Linked DNA regions of Homo sapiens: regions 1, 2, 3 and 4 are each linked to region 5. Evidence: promoter capture Hi-C in 16 types of primary human blood cells and fetal thymus (Javierre and others, 2016). All regions are on one chromosome and are shown on one strand. The core of a region is centred on a gene start or on the middle of the fragment in contact, and the rest is flanking DNA. Distances in the headings are between cores, read along the strand shown.

Region 1 (2,700 bases), core at 17-2,516, 590 kb before region 5:
TGGTAATGCAGAATCTCAGCTTCACTGCAGACCTATTGAATCAGAATCTGCCTTTCAACCAGATCTCCAAATAATTCAAGAGCATAATCAAGAATGAGAAGTGCTCTTGTCCTTCAGCTCTGACCGATCCCTTTCACTTCCCCTGAAAGACAGCCAACTCTCCAAAACTTTCCTTCTCATCAGCTGTCACAGAGCTTTCTGAAGCAGTGTGTATTGTCAGCCCTCTCTTCTCCAAGCAAAGCAATTAACACACTCAACAAATGTGTGTGGGGTGCTCACTGTGTGTTATGTGTCCATGGGGAGGAGAGATACATGTGTGAGGACCCCTGCACAGTGGCCCATTCTCTCCGTTCTCCTGACTTCAGGTGTTTCAGCCAGTTCTTGGAATGACATGGCTTCCAGACCCCTTTGTCATTGTCCTTCAGCTCATCCATGTTGTCAAAAATAATTCTTTAATATTATTTCATTCAAAAACATATTTAACTGAATAATTTTGAATGGATATTTGAATAAGTCCCCCTTAAAGTCTGGCACTCAAACAGGACCCTATATTTCCAAAGTTGCCTGAAAAAATGAGTAATTGAGGGAACTTTTACTTTTGTGGTCTGGATAGAATCACCTGGGTGTCTCAAGTGTGAACGCCATCTCTATCTCCAACTAACTATCTATGGTGAGTGGGGTGGCCATCTTCATCATGAAATGAGGCCCTTGGAGTGCATCACTAAGGTCCCTTGTGTTCCACATTTTATTCCTGATGCTGAAAGGAAGGAACAAGAAATGCTGCCACATTGCACTCCTCGGCCCCTCTGTCCTTCCTTTCCACCAGTTACCAAGCCCCCCATGTCAGGGACATCCCTCGGCCCTGGAGATTCAGCAGTGACATGAGCAAGGATGCAGATTCCATTCTAAAAAGAAAAGACTGAAAACAGAGGAACCCATAAGCGAGCATCTTGACCTGCAGCATTCTGGCCCACTCAGATGGAAACCACCTTTGCAAGAATTATAACAGTAAGAAAATTATGGCAGTAAAAGAGATATGATCTAACTCACCCTCCATCTTGCCTTTCCCTTAATTATTGCTGGGCTTTTGGGCTAGCTAACTTTGGAAGACATTTAGGTTATAGTTTAAATGATAATAGCCCTTCCCCCAAACTTGACTCCCTCTATAAAGCTAATGAAAGGCCATGGGGCTATGGGGGTGGAAAGGAGCCTGATTCTGCTAAGGTGCAGACATAGATTGCCAGCCATTCCTGCAGATAACACCACTATTGTAGATTGGCCTTTTGAGATAGCTTGTCAGATTTTTTGAATGTCTGACACCTATGGCTCCAAGCCGACCCACCGATCCCACTCCTGTGACCCCACCCAGAAGCAATTCAGCATGCAGGAGGACAGCTTCTATCCCCCCAACCCCACACTTCAGCTATAACAGGAAATATCCTCTCCATAGAGCATACAGTAAGTGAATGACTTTGTAACTTTACTTCATCCTCTTCATTTACATAGGGCATACCCCAAGTCGAGGGTATCTAAACTCTCAAACATTCTGTAACAGAGCCTTTGAGCCCCTATGCTCAGACCCGCTCCCACACTGTGGAGTGTACTTTCATTGTCAATAAATCCCTTCATTCCTTCTTTGCTTTGTTTGTACGTTTTGTCCAATTCAGTATGCCAAGAACCTGGACACCCTCCACCAGTAACAGAGGGAAGGGTTTGCTTCTTCTCTTGCTGTGGCCCTACCCATTGTGCTTTCTCATCTCTGTTTTGCAAGCAGCCTTCTTAAGAAGGAGCGAATGAATAAAGTAAAATAAAAACTTTTTGGTTTCTACTAGACTCTTTCACTTACCACCAACTTCCACAATGAGCAACCATGTTCCGTTTCTTCTGCTGTAAGAGTATTAGCAGTAGTGAATACAGGTCTGCAGCAACTCGGTTCTTGTCTCCTCAGAGGAAAGAATTTGTCTGAGGGGCATAAGGCAGAGTGAGGGACTGAGGCAAGTTTTAGAGCAGACATGAAAGTTTATTTAAAAAGATTTAGAGCAGGAATTAAAGGAAGTAAAGTACACTTGGAAGAGGGCCAAGCGGGTGACTTGAGAGATCAAGTGTGCGGTTTGACCTTTGACTTGGGGTTTCATACACTGGCATGCTTTGGGGGTCTTGCAGCTCTTGTCCTCTGATTCTTCCCTTGGAGTGGGCTGTCCACATGCACAGTGGCCTGCCAGCACTTGGGAGGGGCCACATGCACAGTATGTTTACTGAAGTGTACATGCTCACTTGAGGCATCCTTCCCTTACCAGATGAGTGTTCCTAGAGGAAGGTCATATACTGGGTAATCTCCACCATCTGCCTGTTAATGCGCATGCTTGAGTCCACTCGCCCAACTCCTAAGATCTTATCAGGAAGTTGCTGATCATCAGTTTCAGGTGTTTTCTATCTATTGGGAGACTGCCTTTCCCTGATGCTGGCTGTGACTAATGATTATTTTAGAGAGACCATTTAATAACTACCCGACCATCACCTGATGGTCAGCTGACATTCCTGGTGGAGGGGCTCCCTTCTGCCCTGCTTATGTCTTCCTAACTACCTACTCTAATAAAAAGAGTAAAAGGTGGAGAGAAGCAACATCAGGGAGACAGCCACCCTCCACCTACAGAGGGAAAGTTTGAGTCAGCAGCAGGAAAGAGTCCCTTGGAAGTGGGC
Region 2 (2,755 bases), core at 15-2,514, 720 kb before region 5:
CCTTGATCGTTCTACCTTTCTGTGCTGGCATCCACAGCCTGGCTTTGTCTGCAAGTCTGTCTGTATTCATGGTCACAAAATGGCTGCTGCAGCCCCAAGTGTCACATCCTCCCACAATAACAGTCAAAGGCTGGAGAGGAGATAACTTTTTCCATGTGTTCCTTTTTAAAAGCAAAGAGAAGTTTTCAAGAATACACCCATCTGATGCCTTCTCATCCTTCAACGGCCAGAATGGCATCATGAGCCCACACCTAAACCAAGCTCTGGCAAGAGGAGTAGAATTAATGTGGTTGGTTTGGATTAACCAAGCTTCCCTGAAGCATAAGACCACCAGACACCTGAACATGATGCTGGCAAGGCAGCCCGCAGGGTGTGATACACTGAGGGATGGGAGGAAAAGTGGTCTTCCAACCCGCCCCTGGCCTCTTTTTCAGACTAAGCACCATTTCATCATGGTGCCCACCTTCTCTGACTTACAGAGGGCTTCCCCTCCTTCCTACACCCTTTTGTTTCAGCCATAGCCAAATGGCTTGTGGGTGCCTGGATGTATTCTGAGAATTTGCTGCTTTCAGGGCTTACATAGGCTGTTCTGTTTGGAACACACTTCTCCACCCATCTTTAGTCCACTGCATCTTACTTCACCTTAAAAATGTCACTCTAGGACTGACTCTTCTTGGAATCCTTCCCTGTGCCCTCATCCAGGGCCCCTCCTGTGCATCCCAGTGGCACTCCAGGGCTTCTCCATTGTGGAGTGCGCCCCTCTGCACTTTATTCTTTGTTGCCTTGTCTGCCTTTCCATCCAGCTGGGATCTCCTCGAGGGCAGGCCTACATCTGCTGCACTTTGGGACATGGAGCCTGGTCCAGCACCTGGCACAGAGCCATCCACCAGAGTTTGTTGAATGAATGTATGATTAATGTGTTACCCAGCACCCCCTGCACGTCCTGTTTGCCCATTTCTTGGGCCAGGGTAATGGAGGTTATAGACCGGGGCCCCAAGCCCAGCTCTGCCTCCAGCTTCTAGACGTTTCTGTGGATGTAATTTCTTCTTTTGGCGCCTCAGTTTCCTTATCTTTGGTGCCCCCAATTCCCAAGAGTCCCTAACTCCTCTAGCCTGGGTTTCCCTGAAGGCAGGACCTGAGAAAGGAACTTGGGTGCAGGCAGCTTATTTGGGAAGTGCTCCCAGGAACCAGGATTGAGGGAGCAGAAAAGTGAGATGAGGAAGGAGGAAGTCATCATGGGAGTGTGACACTGGGGTCCCTGTTCTATGTCACTAGGGCTCAACTGTCCTGGGATCTCCTGAGAAGCATATGGGGTATTTCCAGGACCATGCCCTCAAAGGCTGGGAGATGGGAGCATTTATCTCTGCTAGCTCTTGTTCCCCATCAGTCAAAGTTCATTCTCAGTAACCTTAAGTCTCCTGGGTTTCTGGGATGTCCTCATGCACAGGCTAGGTGGTTGCTGTGATGTGGGCAGAGGTCTTGAGCAGAAAGACATACAGAGGGCACTCGAGGTGGAACAGTGTCTGGGGAGGTTCTCCCCCAGAATTGCCCATCGCAGCTGCAGCTAAACTCAGAAGTGGGCTGAGGAGGCACCAGGGGCCTCTGCTCCATTCTTGCTAGGAAAATTATCTTAGTTTCAGGGGTCACTCAGGGGCAATGGCAATCAGTGGTTATCAGGAGCGTTGAAGAGCCTGAGCACACCCCAGCAGCCTCTTGACCCCCGATACTTCTCCTTCCTTCTAGCTGGCGTCCAGCTTCCAGGCCACTGCCCGGATTGGCTTGGAGACAGAGGCACAGTTCACGGCTGTAGAGAGGATACTGCAGTACATGAAGGTGGGGTTCAGGTCTGGGTCTGGTGTGGGGAGCCATGCAAGTTGGGGCATGACTTCTGTGACCTCTACAAGCCCCACTGGCCTCAGAGCCCTGAGACCATCCCAGGAAACACCAGGCTCCTGGCCTTTCCTCCCTGTCTTCCCCAGACTTTTGTTGACCATCTCGCTGAAGCTCTTCCATACCTGTCTGCTCACTTTGACCACATCCCTCACAGCATTCCTAGGGGGAAGAGGAGATCATCTTCTCCTCTTGGAAATGAGAGGTTTGCCCAGTGCAATAATAATGATGACAACAATCTTTGTTCCTATTATTGCTTCCATTTATGTCATGGTGGTTAAGAGCACAGATTCTGTAGCCAGATTTCCTGGGTTCAAGTCTAAGCTTTACCATTTGAATCATTGGAATAACCTGGGCAACTTATTCAAACTCTCTTTTCCCCATCTCTGAAATGAGAAAGACAATAGCGTCCCTTTGCCAGATTATCACAAAGTTGAAATGATATAACATGTAAAGCACATAGCACACTGCCTGACCCATAGTGAGGCTCCATCATGTTCTTTATTATTGTGATTGAGACCTTTCTGTGGGCCAGGCATGGTGCTAAGCCCTTTATCTAGACTATCTCATGGGATCATGGAACAATTTTATTAGGTTGATTGAATGATTATCCACATTTTTCAGACAAGGAAACCGAGGTTGGGCCAGGCAGAACTTTTGCTTAAGATCACACAGGCTGGGGCTGGCAGAGCCCTCTACAAACCAGGTCTCCTGCCCCCTTGCATGAGTGGAATTTATGAATTGTAGGGCTCTGATTTCCTGCCCAGGGATGCTGCTGTGACACGGCACCAGCATGGGGAGTTGTGGCTTGCAGCCAGGTGGTCAGATCCAACTTCTTCTCCAGCGTTCTTTCCTCTCAACACAC
Region 3 (2,700 bases), core at 100-2,599, 770 kb after region 5:
TGAGTAGCTGGGACCGTGGCTGGGACTATAGGCTCACACTATCACACCTAGCTTAGCTATCACTTTTTTCCCTCCCTTACACTCCAAGCATTCCAAGACATCTAATAATAGCTAACGTCTATCAAGCACTTAACTGGTGCTTGATAGGCACTGAACCAAGTACTTTAAATAGCATTATTTCATTTAACCCCTACTACACTCCGTAATAGGTGATAATATTAATCACATTTTATAGGTCAGGAAATTGAGGCTCACAGAAATTATACTTTCTTAGAATCCCATAGCCAGTGGTTGGGCATAGTGGCTCATGCCTGTAATCCCAGCACTTTGGGAGGTGAAGGGGGCGGGTCACTTGAGCCCAGGAGTTCAAGACCAGCCTGGGTAACATAGTGAGGTCCCATCTCTATCAAAAATACAAAAATTAGCCAGGTGTGGTAGCACATGCCTGTAGTCCCAGCTACTCGGGAGGCTGAGGTGGGAGGATGGTTTGAGCTCAGGAGGCGGAGGCTGCAGTGAGCCGAGACCGTGCCACTGCACTCTAGCATGGGTGAGAGAACCAGGCCATGTCTCAGAAAAAGAGAAACCAAAAAACCAAAATCAAACAAACAAACAAAAAAACCAAAAAATCACATAGCCAGTAGGTGGTATTAAAACAATAATGCAGCCATTTGCCTGAGATTGTCTTTGTAGCTAAAGCTCTTATAAGCAAACTGGAACCTAACTTGGAAACATTTCTTTTGTCGGGGGAAAAGAACCTCCGAAAGACAAAAATAATCCCCAGCCAATCACAAACAGCCAACCAGCTGACTTGTTATACAACTAGGGACTTCCCATCAGACCATGCCCAGGTTTAAGACAAATACCTAGCTGTAGCTGCCCAGGCTGGTCTCGCACTCATGGGCTCAAGCAATCCTCCCGCCTCAGCCTCCCAAAGTGCTGGGATTACAGGAATAAGCCACTGTGCCAGACCAGCCATATTCTTAATTACCCAATAACGATGTTACTTCCATTACTGATTGCTTGGAAAACTGGTCTTATCAAATGATTCACAGTCAGAATGTACTTAAAACTGGACTCCTGTCAGGCAAGCTGCTAGAGCAGCACTGGGCTGTTCACTGCATAAAATGTCAACGTCAGTACCGTGTTAGTAAAACTTACCCTTTGCTGGGGCTTCAACCACTATCTTCTTTCTCTTCCGTGGTGGAGTAGCTACATCTCCAGGTTCTCCTTTAAGAAGTGTTATCAAGGTTAATTTTTCTCCTGTTCTCAATTTCAGTATTTGGGCATGTTTTGGATCACAAATAAAATTAGACATCTTAACTGATCAAATATGAGGAGAAGAGAAATGATCTTAGACCTCTCTTTTGGGCCTCTTGTCAGACTTGAGAATCATTTTCCAGGCATAGATTCATGGAATCATAGGTTAGAAACATCAATAAAAACATACCTGGTCCACATGTAATACGGAATTTAGGAAGCAGCCAGTTTACATATTTGAAAATATTTGACTTTTACAAGCAAAAGGACTACATTTTCAAATGACGCATTCTTGAACTACAGAATACTTACTGTCGACCTGCTGTCCAATCTTCTCTAGTTGTTTACACAGTCGATCAAATATAGCTTTTTTTACACCGGATGTGGCTACCATTTTGTTTTTATCCACTTTCAGCTTTAGAATCCTACAAAACAATTTCATAAGTTGCTTTTCTCAAGACCTGTACAGTTTTCTTCTCTGGGCAACCAGATAATCAACTTATTTTCTTTTTGACCATGCTTCCAGAGCCTCTGTCTAGTTTTTTTCCTTCATTCCAAACATGTTATTATCTATGCTAAGTTGTTTAGTTGTTTATTGGACTGAGAGTTAAAATGCACATGGGATCTATTTTATAACAAAAGGGGCACATAAAAGACATTTGCTGTAGTGCTTCATGACTTTTAGAACTCTTTAGTAAATCTCAGATTAATTTAATGAATGACAATCATAGGACTTTTTTGTTCCACTCATTTTAACTCACAGGATATTTATATTACAGGAATGTAACAACCCCACCCCACCCTGAAAATAAACTTTCCTAATAAGACTCCACAGCAACCACTAATTACAAACACAAAATAAACTTTTTCTTCAGAATAGACCTGTCAAGACCTTTTCTTACTCAGCGTAATATGGTTTCAAAAGTAGAGTTGACTATTCTCACTGTTTTCTACAATATCAGCTGCACTCCCTCCGTATATGCACATACTTTTGTTGAATTGAAGAGATGTTTTCCATAAATGCCAATTAATACTCCTAGGTATGTACCTAATAGAGCCAAGCATACCAAAATTAGTGGGTAGGTAGTGAGAAATCCATTCTTTAAGGGCCAACTACATTTTGTTTTCTAAGGAGTTTTCTGGCAAGATAAAAATAAGATAACTTTAGACAAAGATTATCAACAATTACTAATATTTCCAAGGTAACATTTCAGCATACACATAGATAACCCACAATTGTAAGATTCAGATGTGATAATTTATCACTAAAATGTTATAAATTCCTTGAAGAACAGTTGTAGCCAGTGTTTTGTTTTTTTTTTAAGAGACAGTGTTGTGGGGGGGTCAGCCCCCCGCCCGGCCAGCCGCCCCGGCCGCCCCTACTGGGAAGTGAGGAGCCCCTCTGCCCGGCCAGCTGCCCCGTCCGGGAGGGAGGTGGGGGGG
Region 4 (2,700 bases), core at 115-2,614, 920 kb before region 5:
CAGGTCAAGGCCACATGGCTATGCCAAGCACATAGTCTGTAAAAATGGAAAATTTACCTCTAAACTGAAGTGAACCGAACTCTATTGACCTTCCCGTGTACTGAGGAGCTATAACTTCTCCCCAAAAATGTGAAAGTAAAATTGCAGTTTAAATCATGTAATTAGGAATACTGTAAACTAGTGTTTTGCACATATAAACTTTATCATACACTGGGAATTTGTACATACGTGCCCGGTATGGGATTTTTCTATTTTTATTTTTATTTTTTTGAGACAGAGTCTCGCTCTGTTGTCCAGGCTGGAGTGCAATGGCCTGATCTCTGCCTCACTGCAACCTCTGCCTCCCGGGTTCAAGCGATTCTCCTGCCTCAGCCTCCGAGTAGCTGGGACTACAGGCGTGCACCACCACGCCCGGCTAATTTTTGTATTTTTAGTAGAGATAGGGTTTCACCATGTTGGCCAGGCTACTCTCGAACTCCTGACCTCAGGTAATCCATCGGCCTCGGCCTCCCTAAGTGCTGGGATTACAGGCGTGAGCCACCGCGTCCGGACGGAATACCATTTTAATAGATCTTACATGGAATTCCAGTTAGGGCTTGTAAATGTCTCAGATGCTTGCTTCTGCTCATAGCACCCATCAAAGAATTGCAAGTGATGTTTTCCTTTTATTATTTCAAGAAGTGGAATGCAGAGTCCCTAATTAGGGACTTTCCAGATGAGCATGGACACAGGAAAACGCGTGCTTCCCCATTACCCACTTTTCAGCTGAAACAAGCTTTTGAAGCTCGTCCCGCTGTTGCTGAGGAGCGGCTCAACCTCGGGAGAGGCTGGGACTCTCTTTAGGGGTGGGGTCCCGGTCGGCGGGCAGGGCAGCCGCTTTTTCTTTGGGACTGAGTGGAGTTGGGAAGGATCCGTGGAGGCGCTGGGCTAAATCAGCAGACAAAACAAGGGGGAGGGCACAAGGCCGCGGCGGCGGCCAGCCTGGGGCTCGCATCCCGCTGGGCGACCCCTCCGGCCGGAGCCGGGGGGGTCACGCGGCCCCGGAACAAAGCGCCGCGGGAGGAGCTGCCCTGAGCCGACGGGCAAGCGCTAGCTTCTCGCGGGCCAGAGCGCCACGTGCCAGGATCCGTTGAATGCGCGGTGCACGGGCGCAGCAACGGTAGCCGAGTAGCCCCCGCACCTACTGCCGCCTTTGGAGACCCGCACAGCTACGCCCGCGGAGGCCGCCGCCGGCCGCGCCAACGCCTGTGCGCCTGCGCGCCCGCGAAAGCCCCGCCCCCCCAGGCTCCCAGCGCGCGGGGCCGCGCCTCCTCATGGCCGCCGCCGCAGTGTGTGGTATTTAGCGGGGGCGCGCGGCGGGCTCGAGGACGCGCGAAACGGCGGCGGCGGCGGCGGCCAGGGGGGAGCCGGGGCGGCCGTTGCGGGGCGCGCTCTCGAGAGGCGGCGGCGGCCCAGGGTGTCCCGTCGGTCTCGGCGCCGGGAAGAGGCGGTGGCGCTGCCCGCGGTGGCGGGGGTTGGCGACGGAGCGCGTTGGTGCCAGGACCGGGGTCCGAGGCGCGCTCTCCGCCCACAGGTAAGTGGGGCCCGGCCTGAGGGAGGAGCCGGCGGCGAGGGGCTCTCCGACAGGCGGGCGCCCAGGCCCGGTAATGGCGGAGGGCGGGAAGGGCGGCCCGGCCGGGGCGCGGGCAGTAGTCGGCGCGGCGGCGCCTTTGTCTCGGCCGGAGTCGGGCCGCCCGGTCGAGCGCCGCCCCCCGCCCCTCCCCTGCCTTCAGCCTTCGCAAGCCGGCTCGCCCCCGCCCCTGGAGCCCCGGGCCCGGCGGGGTGGCGGCGGGGGTCGGCCCCGCGCGGCCGGGCCGAGGGCGGGGGAAGGGCCTCGGCGGCGGCCCGGCCCCCGCGCGCCCGGGAGGCGGGCCCGGCCGGGGGTGGCGCCCGGCGCGCCCCGCGCCCTCGTGCCGGCCTTTGTTGTGGAGGGTCCCGGGGTGTGCGGCCAACATGGCGGAGGTCAGCTGAGTGCGGGCAGCTGCCGGGGCCCTGCCCTCCCTCCCCCTCCTCCCCGCGGCGCCCGGAGGCCCGGGCCGCACCGCGCCGCTCGGCGGGCCTCGGCCTCCGCTCTCTGCCCCCGACCCCCGGCTGGAGCCGTCCGGGACGGGGCTGCGCTCTTCCTGCCGCTTCGGCCGGAGGCTTCATTGTGCAGTGGGAAGAATGCAGCCTCCTCCCTTGTTTATGTCGTTAGAGAGGAGAGCGCGTGAACGGCGTGCCGGGGAAGCTCTAGCTTATTATAAACCTGGCATTTCCTAGGGTTCATTTGCCGGGTAGTTTGGGGTCCTTTCTTAACTCTCCCAAATTTATAACTTAAAGTGAATAACCTGGGCCACTCCGATGCGTAGGTTCGTTTTCGCTGTCTGCCCGTTCCTGGAAAGATACATAATTTGTTTGCTCGGACATTCAGAAAAGTCCAGCTTGGGTGTTCGGAAAATCAGATTGTGTGTACTTCTTTTGCCAAAGTCATAGAGGCCATAAACAAACAGAGAGACATGGATACTGGATATGGGACGGTGTTCTGACTGTCCCTTCCTAGCAGTTGAGCATTTACCTTTGCTTATAGCGGCTGTCAAGGGTAAATTGTTAACTCTTCAGCAGTTGGATGTTGAGAGCACGGGCTGTGAAGTCCGACTGTCTGCTTTGGGTCAAATCCTGCTC
Region 5 (2,700 bases), core at 82-2,581:
CCAAAGTGCTGGGATTACAGGCGTGAGCCACCGCGCCCGTCCGAAAATAATTTCTTAATATCAATGCAAGTGCAAAGTTAATTTTCCTAGCTAACACCTTTCACACCCACCCCCAATAATGACACTTCATCAATTCTTTAAAAGGGAAGCTCCTTAGCTGAAAACCTGCATTCCGCCTTTCACCTTTCCTGTTTAAGTGCATGCCTTTTGTTCAAGATTATATCCAGCCAACCAGGAATACAGGAAGTTTTAATAACGCCACAAGTCATGACGTTGCAATTTGAACAAGTCAGTTCGGGACACTTGGAACTGTTAAAACTGCCTGCAAGGCACCTTCTGACCTCTATGCTTTCGGGTTTGGAAACCACACAACCTGGGGCCACTTAAGAAGCCCTTTTCTTTCTGGGCCCTAACTATACTCTTCAATATCTGAGGCCCAGTCTCCTTCAGTTTCTGCTAGATAGATGACAGGTCTACTGCTTAGAACCTGTGGGGAATGTAAAAGGGATATAAGACATAAAGCAAGGAGCCCAGACGCCGGCTTTCTGCAGCCAGATCGTAGTTACATCTGACTTGGTCTGATTAAGCTATCTGACTTTTGCAGAGAACATTCACAGGAAAGACACATTCACAGGGAAGACACATTCCCTTTCCCAGGAATGTGCCGCCGCCCGATTTTTAAGTTAGAAGACTCTAAGGGAAGTCCGGACCGCTGCCTACTTTCCGAGTGGGGCTCACAAGCGGAATAGAGTCGGGGGCACACGCAGAGTGGAGCTGGCTCTGCCACCTAATTTTTAGAGGTGGAGGAAGATATTAGAAACAAGGCCAGGGCCGCCACCTGCTTTCTAAGGAGGAACTCGGGGCACAGGTTCATTCCCAGGGCCCCCACCTGCCTCCCGCCAAGGCGCTTGAGGCGAAGCACCACCCAAGGTACTCGGGTGGGGGGCGGCGCCCCAGCCAGCCAAACCTGAGCGCTTGGTCCGAGCTCTTCGCTCCAAGACCTTCCAGCTCACTTCTGCCGTGAGTCCCGCCGCCCCCGCCATCGCGCTCCGGTCGCCGCCTTGGCCACCGCCCCCGGGGCCGCCTGTCAGCAATGCCGGGCCACGCCCCCCGCACGACACTGTCGGGAGGCGCGCCTGCCGGAAGTGAGCGTGAGGGCGGCTTTCACCCTAGCTCCACTGCTTTTTTAGCGTCGGAAGGGCAGCCCTAGTGGGAGAGAGAAAAAGGAGCCGGCAGCGGCTCTTACGCGTCCCGGGGCTGCGCGCCACTCTCTCGGCCGGTAACGCGGTGCTTTGCGGCTGTCGTCAAGCGCGGCGTTGGGCCGGCGGGCGGGGGCTGAGGGGCTGCCATGGCGGCGGCGGGCCGGCTCCCGAGCTCCTGGGCCCTCTTCTCGCCGCTCCTCGCAGGGCTTGCACTACTGGGAGTCGGGCCGGTCCCAGCGCGGGCGCTGCACAACGTCACGGCCGAGCTCTTTGGGGCCGAGGCCTGGGGCACCCTTGCGGCTTTCGGGGACCTCAACTCCGACAAGCAGACGGATCTCTTCGTGCTGCGGGAAAGTCAGTGCTTGCCGGGCCCTCCCTCTGTTCGCTGTCCGTGTGCCTCTCCCGGTGTTCCCCAAACCCATTGCCCAATGGCCGGTCCTTCTGCATTTCCTGGTCCTTCTCTCCCAGCCCTGTGGCCTTCCCTTTAGCATTCTTAACAGCTTGTCCTTTTGCACCACCCTTTCCAACCCCAGGTTCTGACCCAGCTACCCTACAGTTTGACCTACCCTCAAAAGCCCTGACAGCACCTCAGTTTTGTTCCTAAGAAGTCTGCGGCCCTCACCCAGTCACCTTACCCCCTCCTCCCCATGGAATCACCTGTTTTCCAAAGTGCTTCCTGATTCCTAGGAATCTTTGTAGCTTGCCTCAACGTTCGCTCCCAAGGCCCACTCATTCCTTTCTATTTTGCTTCAGTCTTCCTTCCCCGTTGATGAACATGAAAAGGTGCAACCTGACAATCTCTTCTCATAGGGGGCTTCTTCTTGCCTCCCCACCTACCTAATTCGCCCACCCCTTTCTTTGTCAAGGCCACAACTTTCTATGAAGCGAATGTACCCTTCCAAGGGCCTAAACACTAAACAGCTCACACAAGCATTTTGCAGGGACCACTGATAAACCCAATGCCTCCTTGGGAAAGCAGTCTCAAACTACAGAAATTTCTCTCTTGAGCTGCCTGTTCTTTCGTGTACTCCTTCCTCATCTTGGTCATCACCTTAGTGTTCCAAATGTCTACTTTCTTTGCTAACTTGTTCTTGGAAATTCTTTGCTTTGACAATCGTTAAACTAACTTTTTTGTAAATCTTGATGCTGACAGTGGGCATTAGGGGGTCTTAGGGTTCTTGAGTACCTACAGAAGCAGGTGCTGCTTAAAGATCAATGCTGTGAAGGAAGGAAGGAAGAGCTACTCAGAGCTTGCCTGACAGGATCCTGAACCAGACTTCTTGGAGCCCTTGCGGGGATGCAGGAACCTCTTACAAACCCTGAATATTTTCCCAATCTTTTTGACTCCTCATTTTGCAGTGTACTGCCAAACCTGTTGCTGCTGTGTCCAAACTGGATACAGAGAGTAGCCTTGACTTTAAAGATGGCCTGTGTTTGATTAAACAATTCCAAAAGTCTGTCTCAATGAGTGCTAATTGAGCTCCAAGAATGTGTCACC

The links. The method cuts DNA at HindIII sites, captures the fragments that hold promoters and counts their contacts. A CHiCAGO score of 5 or more calls a contact.
Region 1: a fragment that was not itself captured here is called in contact with the fragment with the promoter of ITFG1 in region 5 in 1 of 17 cell types (endothelial precursors); the score reaches 6.0 in endothelial precursors.
Region 2: a contact is called between a fragment that was not itself captured here and the fragment with the promoter of ITFG1 in region 5, in 1 of 17 cell types (neutrophils). The highest score is 8.1, in neutrophils.
Region 3: a contact is called between a fragment that was not itself captured here and the fragment with the promoter of ITFG1 in region 5, in 1 of 17 cell types (neutrophils). The highest score is 6.0, in neutrophils.
Region 4: a contact is called between the fragment with the promoter of SIAH1 here and the fragment with the promoter of ITFG1 in region 5, in 2 of 17 cell types (neutrophils and monocytes). The highest score is 5.3, in neutrophils.

Annotation. Positions count from the first base shown.
Region 1 is chr16:48,049,674-48,052,373 of GRCh38, reverse strand. No RefSeq gene overlaps it. Among named protein-coding and RNA genes, the nearest start is that of LINC02134, 85 kb to the right of the region's middle. The HindIII fragment of the contact is 3,168 bases long and covers 1-2,700 here.
Region 2 is chr16:48,177,675-48,180,429 of GRCh38, reverse strand. ABCC11 (ATP binding cassette subfamily C member 11) reads left to right here. Exons shown (of 30, transcript NM_001370497.1): 24 at 1,744-1,833. Among named protein-coding and RNA genes, the nearest start is that of ABCC12, 23 kb to the right of the region's middle. The HindIII fragment of the contact is 1,905 bases long and covers 312-2,216 here.
Region 3 is chr16:46,694,544-46,697,243 of GRCh38, reverse strand. ORC6 (origin recognition complex subunit 6) reads right to left here. Exons shown (of 7, transcript NM_014321.4): 5 at 1,570-1,682; 6 at 1,159-1,227. Among named protein-coding and RNA genes, the nearest start is that of ORC6, 6.2 kb to the right of the region's middle. The HindIII fragment of the contact is 5,773 bases long and covers 1-2,700 here.
Region 4 is chr16:48,384,077-48,386,776 of GRCh38, reverse strand. SIAH1 (siah E3 ubiquitin protein ligase 1) reads left to right here and starts at 1,364. Exons shown (of 2, transcript NM_003031.4): 1 at 1,364-1,573. RefSeq lists silencers at 936-1,755, 1,856-1,925, 2,016-2,285. The HindIII fragment of the contact is 2,947 bases long and covers 778-2,700 here.
Region 5 is chr16:47,459,694-47,462,393 of GRCh38, reverse strand. It overlaps ITFG1 (integrin alpha FG-GAP repeat containing 1), which reads left to right and starts at 1,331. Exons shown (of 18, transcript NM_030790.5): 1 at 1,331-1,556. The coding sequence starts at 1,349. It overlaps PHKB (phosphorylase kinase regulatory subunit beta), which reads right to left and starts at 1,063. Exons shown (of 31, transcript NM_000293.3): 1 at 968-1,063. The coding sequence starts at 1,043. RefSeq lists a silencer at 953-1,422. The HindIII fragment of the contact is 8,409 bases long and covers 1-2,700 here.